Linked DNA regions of Homo sapiens: region 1 is linked to region 2. Evidence: promoter capture Hi-C in 16 types of primary human blood cells and fetal thymus (Javierre and others, 2016). All regions are on one chromosome and are shown on one strand. Each heading gives the region's core, a stretch centred on a gene start or on the middle of the fragment in contact. The rest is flanking DNA. Distances are from core to core; before and after follow the strand shown.

The links. Contacts are between HindIII fragments. The CHiCAGO score rates a contact against its expected background, and 5 or more counts as called.
Region 1: a contact is called between a fragment that was not itself captured here and the fragment with the promoter of HK2 in region 2, in 1 of 17 cell types (naive CD8 T cells). The highest score is 5.8, in naive CD8 T cells.

What each region holds. Positions count from the first base shown.
Region 1 is chr2:75,604,083-75,607,823 of GRCh38, reverse strand. No RefSeq gene overlaps it. Among named protein-coding and RNA genes, the nearest start is that of MRPL19, 41 kb to the left of the region's middle. The HindIII fragment of the contact is 160 bases long and covers 1,925-2,084 here.
Region 2 is chr2:74,831,250-74,835,491 of GRCh38, reverse strand. HK2 (hexokinase 2) reads right to left here and starts at 1,365. Exons shown (of 18, transcript NM_000189.5): 1 at 849-1,365. The coding sequence starts at 911. It overlaps HK2-DT (HK2 divergent transcript), which reads left to right and starts at 1,505. Exons shown (of 1, transcript NR_185897.1): 1 at 1,505-2,837. RefSeq lists silencers at 224-473, 1,394-1,623, 1,804-1,873 and an enhancer at 1-647. The HindIII fragment of the contact is 22,379 bases long and covers 1-4,242 here.

The sequences.
Region 1 (3,741 bases), core at 755-3,254, 770 kb before region 2:
CGTGACATTTCCGTGCCTTCATCCTCTCACGCTGATCCCCCTGCAGAAAGTCTGACAAGCCACCTTTTCTGGACAAGGCTTTCTTCCCCTGATGCCTCCCAGCAAACACACACATGGGGTTAGGCACTCTCTCCTCAGCATTCCCATTGTTCTTGCCCATGCATCAGTACAGCAGGTATTATTCTAGGTACAGTCATTGTTTGTGTAGGCCTGGGGCTGCCACACCTGGAGGGGAATCTTTTACCCAAGACGAGAGCAGATGCCAGGAATCATCAGAGTTCCACTCATTCAAGAACAAGGAGATCTGAAGGGAATCTGCAGAACCCCACAACCAAAGAGGGCTATGGTCATGGGTGAAGCAGGGACCATGAATAGGAACTTGGACTGGTCGATGGGAGCAATACTAACAAGTTAGGCCTGAAAGGGCAGCATCTAGCATGGCGCCAGCACATAGATGGTCCTCAGGAAGTGAGTGATAAATCGGGGAGGAATGGATGGTACATGATGAACAGTCTTTATTAAGCCGAATCTCAGGCTGTATTTGTTACAGGCAGTTACCGCAGTCTGGGTTGAAGTCATAATTCTCTCAAGAACTTTGCATGCTCCTGGAACTTCCCACTATATTTCTCAACTGATTTCCCCATGAGTTTGACTAAGGATGTGGACCACTTGAGTTGGTAAACCACACTGACCATCCCCGCCACACTACAAGCAGCAGCAGCTCCCTATCCAGGCTCCTGTTTGCAGAGCTGGAAATGGCCGAGCTCTGCATGGTGGTTCAGCATGACTCAACCTCCTTGTTTGGGGGCCAGCCCCCACTCCTGGCCATGAATCTAACTGAGCCTAAAACCCCCTTGTTTTTCTAAGTGGGTGTTGGGAATTTCCTTGGTTAAGCCTCCAGGTCTTCCCTCCTTCCGGATTTAATGAGCTCATTTATTTTACTTTTTCACTTAGCAGGTTTTAGGGCCAGTTAATGAATGGTGGGGTTCTCTTTAAGAGCCAAGTTGGGCCGGGGCTCAGGGCACTTTTCTTGCCATTTCCCACTCTCAAGTCCCCTGTGTCTCTAGAAGTCTCTCCACAATGCTGGCAACTGCTCTTCCCACTGCAATCCCCATATATCGAACTTTCTGGAACACAAGGACAGGGAGACCTCCAAATATTTTTGTGGTTGTTGTTTTGTAGTTTGTTCTGCTTTGTTTTGTTTTTCCCCTCCACACATTTTTCTGGGATGGCTGTTTCAATATGAGCTTGTGCTTTCTAAAAAGAAGGAGGTGTGGATGCCTCAGGAAAAGAGATCCATTTTTAAATGCAGGGCCTCCACTCTGAGTTCTGTCTGAAGTATTTGGTAGATTTTTGGGGTGGAGCAAGCTGGTTGTGAATTCCAGGGAGACTTGCCAGATGCTGTTTAAACCTCCTTTGTGTGAAGTTGGCTGTAAAGAGCCGCCAGGAGGGCGCACTAGTGGAAAGGAACTTGGAAGCCAACCTTTAGCCCAGAAAGAATGAGAAAGAATCCAGGGTCCACATGGCAAGAATGCATGCCTGCAGCAACTCAATGACTGACTCAGTTCCTAGAAGCTCCTCTTGGTAACGCCCTCTCTTCTGCTAGGTTGAATCACATACTGGAGAAAGCTTAGTCCAAAGAGTCTCCTGTACCTTTGTCCATCTATCCACCCATCCAGTAAATAAAGATTGAGCATTTACTGTGGGTCAGACACTGAGCTAGGCACTAGGGCATCAGGAGGAACAACTGGCCACAGTCCTAATGAATGCCCACAGGTCAGAAGAGTCAGGATTCCTGTGTGGTGGGAATGACAGACAGTGGGGGAGGCACTAGAGGATAAGTCATAGAAACCTCAGCATGTCACGCTTGGATAGCTTGCAGAGCAGTTGCTAACTGCTTGTTTACTGCTGAAGCACCAAAGCTTGGATACGATGCTCCCAACTGGCAAGGCAGAGCCCACGGCTTGCTTCTGCCTGGGGACCAGGCTGTGGGTGGCAATGGGAGCCTGAGTTTCTCTGCTAAACCTTCATACCAGGCAAGAGTCTGGGGCCAGTATTATTAACCAAAAACACATTTTGAAGCTTGTTGTGATCTGACTCCCTACGTGACCCCAGCAAAAAACAGAGAGAAGGGCTCAGGTGGGGGAAGGCAGCCCACCTTCATCTGCATTGGGTTGCTGTGTGTATTGGCTCCCTAGAGCTGCTGCAACAAAGTACTACAGACTGTGTGGCTTAAACAACAGAAATTTATTTTCTCACAGTTCTGGAGGCTAGAAGTCCAAGATCAAGGTAGCAGTAGGGTTGGTTCCTTTTCAGCGCTATGCAAGAGAAGCTGTTCCCTGCTTCTCCCTTAGCTTCTGGTGGTTTGTTGGCAATCTTTGGCATTCTTTGGCTTTTAGAAGTGTCACCCTAATCTCTGCCTGCATCTTCATATGGTGTTCCCCCTGTGTGGATGTCTCCATGTTCAAATTTCACCTTTATATAAGAATACCAGTCATATTGGTTAACCACACCCCACCACGACTTTATCTTAACTAATTCAATCTGAAATGACTCTATCTCCAAATAAGATCATATTCTGCAGCACTGGGAGTTAGATTTCAATGTATGAATTTTAGGGGTATACAATTCAACCCATAGCACCATGATTCTGACGTTATCCTTCTCCTCCAGCCATCAGCAGTACCTATGAGGAGGAGGTCAGGGCTGAGTCCATCTCAAGGAGGATCAGGAGTGGTGTCCTAGGGAGAACCAAAGGGTAGTCTACAAGCAGGGAAACAACTACTAGAAGGAGAGTTTGGGCTAGAGAGGAGTCTGGCACATGGATGTCTCATAAGCAGCTGCAGAAACGTAGAAGAGCAGTTATCAGGGTGCACAGATTTGGTCCTCTACCCCATTGTGCTTGGAGATAGCAGGAGCCTAAAGGAGAAGAAAGCCCCAAGCGGGCAGCTATTTTTAGCCTGGGACAGAGTTGTCAGAGGATGGCAGGGGGCAGAAAGGCCCCTGGGATCTGGGTGAGAAGACCCTGGGACTTTGAAGAAAGGGGAGAATAGCTATCAAGGTCCAGAGCTCCGGAGGACTTTTGAGTCGTTTAGTGTGCAGGAATGAGAATGTGAGACTGTGAGCGAGGGCACCTGGGGTGACTCTGCTTGCATGAATGACTGGGTGTTCATTCATAGCCATCCAGGGTTAGCTAAGACTCTTAGCCACTTCCTCTTTGAAACACAAGATTAATTTAATTAAAAAGCATAATTGTGGTGGGATATTGTCATATAGCCTTGTAGACTTTGGCAGATAATTCTGAAAAAGAAAATAGGGTACATTTGCCTTACCAAATATTGACATTTAAGATAAAGTGATTTTCATCAAAATAATATGTTTTGGCACATGAACAAGTGGTCCACTGGAACAGGCTAGAATCCAGGAATGGGTACCGTATGTTTGCAAAATTAGTATTTGATAAAGACAACATTTCAATTCAGCAGGAAAGTTAGGATTGATTCAAGAAATAGTGCTGACCTAATTGGCTCTTCATCTGGGGAAAAAAAGTGAGATGGGTTTTGGTTAAAGATATAAATGTAAATAAGTAAACACAAAGGATTTGAAGAAAATCTAGTGGAAAGTTTCTATAACTTTGGCATAGAGGGCATAAATTTAATGGTAGCAAGAATCCCAAAATCCAACAAGGAGAAAACAAATGACATATTTTCTCACTTTTTTTTCAAATTACAAGAACAAAAC
Region 2 (4,242 bases), core at 116-2,615:
GAACAGACAGGTCGAGGCTTAAGGAAAAAAAAGCTCGTTTTCGGAAGGACATAAATCTCAAGAATCTCAAGTAATCCAGGAACGCGGCGCGTTGGCCTCTCCGAGTAACTTTTAGGGCAAACCAGAAAGTAACAACCAAAGTCCTCCCCTTACTCAGAGGCAGATCCTGAGGACACGAGGCTGGGCGGTCCCGAGGCTGATTTGGAGGGGCGGGGGTTAATGGGGGACGCCCCTCGCCGAGCCTCAGTTCCGGGCGCCACAGTTCCGGGGAGGGGGCGCGGCGGGCGGAGTTCCTCTGCCCCTTTCCTACTCCTTCCCGGGTCAGCTTCTCCTCGAGCCCACCCCCGCAGGGCCGCGGGGAAGGAGAAGGGAACCGCTCGTCTCCTACACGCGGTCCGCGAGCGCGGACGGCCCCCGGCGGCCCCACGCGGCAGCGGAGCAGCCTCCCGCAGCCACGATTCTCTCCACGTGCTCTCGCCGGAACTCGCGCTGCAGAAGGGGGCTCCCTCCCACGTGGGCGCAGCAATCCCTGACTACCTGCGGGGTGACCCGCCCCTCCAGTAACAGGGAAAAAGGGACTGGGGGAGAGAGCGTGAGCGCGTGCCGGAGCTCAGGGAGGGAGGGCGCCCGGCGGAGCGCGACCTCGGCTCCCCGCCCGCGCGCACTCGCCGGCTGTGCTTAGCGGACGTGGCTCCTGGCGCCCAGGAGTGTCCCGGCTGCCCAAACTTTTTCCGCTCCCAGGCCCGGAGTAGGGAGGAAGCGGGTCCCCGCAGGGTCGAGGAAGAGACTGATGGAGGCCAGACCACTTTGCCAGAGCCCAGCCTGCCGCCCCGCCCGCGCTGACTTACCTTCTGCACTTGGTCATGGTTGAGCTCCGTGAAGAAGTAGGCAAGCAGATGCGAGGCAATCATCCTGCCGCGGCCCGACGGCGCAGAGTTGGGAAACCGAGGCGGAGACGCGAGAGGGGAGGCGGGCGGCGCGGTCCGACTGCTTTGTGCTGGGGCTCGGCTGCCGGGCCGGGAGCTGGGAGTCCGGACGGCGCACAAAGAAGGCTACCGGCGAGGGTGCGCCCGGCTGGCGGAGGGCGCGGGTCTCCGGAGACGTGATTTTGGCGTCACAACTGCTAGAAGGCGCCTCAGTTCTCTCCTGGCGACGTGTCCGGTTGTCCCACGTCAAGGCGCTAACTTCGGCCACAGGATCACTGAGGCTCAACTTGAGAAGAATCTCAGCCCGGCTCCACTCGGGCAGTGGGACCTCTCCGATTCACAGGCGCGTGGCTCGGGCCCGCGGATTTTCTTAGCTGGGTGACACGATGTTGCCAGCGGCAGCCCGGGACTCCTGCGCCGGAGTTTCATGCAACAATGTGGCTTATTGAGGGGCTGCCGGCCCGCGGGCCTCCGGATCAGTGACGTGCGCACGCCCATTGGCTGCGCGGGGAGGGTGTGTGCGCCCACGGACCGCCCGCCGCCGTGGCGCAGCCAATCATCGCTCACGGCTCGCGGGCGCGGCCGCTCAGACACCGGAGCCGGCAGCCTGGGGAGGCGCGCCGGGGGCGGGGGGCGGGGGAGGGGCGGGGCGCCTGAGATGGGACGTGTGGTCCGTGGCTAAAGGCTGGGACGGAAAGGCGCATGAGCCACCGCCGCGTCAGGCTCGGCTATGGGTGGGGGGAGCGTGATCGCGGACCCGGGGTGTGGGGCGACTGGAAAAACGGGCCTCTGGACCAGCACACGCCCTGTGCGGAGAGACACTGTCTGGCATCTCGGGATCATGTGAGGGGCTCCCACTGCCCAGTCACACGTCTAAAGCATCCTAGTTCTTACCTATTGTAGCACGGCCGGAAAGTGAGCCGCCTTAGCTGCTGATTGTACTAGAGCAGGCAATACAAGAGTCGGCCCATCCTCAAAACCACTGATAGGATGTGAGTTTCACTAACCCCGTTTTACAGATGAGGAAATTGAGGCAAGGCCAGGGCTCACACCTGTAATCCCAGCACTTTGGGAGTCCAAGGTTGGAGGGTTGCTTGAGACCAGGAGTTCATGACCAGCCTGGGCGACATAGTGAGACCCCCATCTTCCCAAATAAAAATAAATAAATCAGCCGGACATGGTGGCATGTGCCTGTAGTCCCTGCTGCTCAGAAGGCTAAGGTGGAAGGATAGCTTGAGCCCAGGAGTTCGAGGCTGCAGTGAGCTATGATCATACCACTGTACTCCAGCCTAGGTGACAGAGGGAGACCCTGTCTCAAAAAGAAAAGAGACTTACACGAGGTCACATAGCTAATAAGTGGCAGATAGGGAAGAGAACCCTTGTCCCTCTACTTTAAGGCCCTATTCGCTTGCCCCATTATCCCATGCTGCCTCTCTAAGAGCCAGAGAAGTAGGAGGTAGAAAAAGAGCATCTCTGCAGCTCTGGGACTGATGATGTGAATGAACTGGGTAGATGGTAAGTGTGTAACTGGGTGATCTTGGACATGGGATGGGGTGGGTGAGGAGGCTTACCAATGCTGAGAGGAGTGGAAGCTCCAACCCCAGCTAATGCTAGACACCAGACTCCAAATTTAAACACACAGTGGAAACTGGCAAGAATGAAATACTGACTTCAATACAGATTTCAAGAGACATGACATTAGCACTGGTGGAGAATGGCAAGCCTAAGGTTGGAAAAGGTTCAGGGAAGGAAGATGAAGGTCTGCCATGTTCTACTGAGGAGGAGTTTTTCAAACAGTGGGGTGCTGTCTGCAATGTGTACAGCCTTAAAATTATTATATAAGTAATCAATACTCATTGTTGAAAAATAATATATGGATAAACAGGAAAAATAAACAAAAATCATAATCCATCTAGCCTCTCAGCAAAACTTCCTTTTTTTTTTTTTTAAAGCAGGGACTCGATATGTTGCCCAGGCTGGTCTTGAACTCCTGGGCTCAAGCAGTCCTCCCACTTCAGCGTCCCAAATAGCTGGGATTACAGATGTGCTCAGCAAAACTTCTTGAGAACTATGTACCCTTCTAAATGCACGTCCTCAACCCTCCTTCCCTATACTCCACACAGAATTGAGCTCAAACTGCTTTTGTCATAGTCATCATAATGACCTACATGTTGCCAAATCTTGCATTCTCTTCTCTTCCCTGCCCTTGTCTTACTCCTTCTCTCAGGGATGTTGAGGACAGTTAATCACATCCTCCATCTGGACACACCTTCCTCTCTCAGTAAGAGCACCAGTGCTCCACTCTGAGGGTTTCTGGCTAACCTCACTCCCCAGGCTCCTGAGTCCCTGTTTGCTCTATTGGTAAATGCTGGGGTATTCGGGGCTGCCCTCCACCCTCTTCTCTGAACTAGTTACAGTTTCAAACTCCCTGAGGAGAAACTAACTTCCTAGCCCCATGACTGTTATATCATATGCATGCTGATGACTCACCATAGTAAATCTACAGCGAGGTCCTCTCCTGGAGTTGCAGGCTTATTTCTCCAGCTTGCCATTTGTCATCTCCACTGAAGTGACTAGCATATCACACTTAACATGTCCAAAGCTGAACTCAACTTTTTTTCCCAAATCTTTTTCTTTCCCAGTTGTCTCAGCAAATGGCATCGCCATCCACCCTAACTCGTCTTCGATTCCTTCTTGCCACTCACCCTCACAGCCAGTCAATCCATCAGCAAGCAGTTAATTCCACCTATAAAACAGACCGTGCATCTGACCACTTATCTCCATGCCCTTAGACACCTCCTGAGATCTTCCCACAGAATACTGCTTGGCATTCACACTAGCATGCTTTCCTCAAAAATACAAACTCTTTCTCACCCAAGGGTCTTTGCTCTTCCTTTTCCTTCTATCTAGAATATTCTTCTCCAGGCCTGTCTCCAACTCATTCTTCCTCCTCATTGACGTTCCACTCAGATACCTCCTCATGATGCAGGGCAGGCAGGCCCCAAAATTTGGACTTAGCCTGGGAAGATTTTTGGCTTCACCCAGTAAAGAATTCAAGGGATGCCGGGCGCGGTGGCTCACACCTGTAATCCCAGCACTTTGGGAGGCTGAGGTGGACGGATCACGAGGTCAGGAGATCGAGACCATCCTAGCTAACACGGTGAAACCCCATCTCTACTAAAAAAAAAAAAAATACAAAAAATTAGGCGTGGTGGCGGGCTCCTGTAGTCCCAGCTACTCGGGAGGCTGAGGCAGGAGAATGGCGTGAACCCGGGAGGCGGAGCTTGCAGTGAGCCGAGATCGCGCCACTGCACTC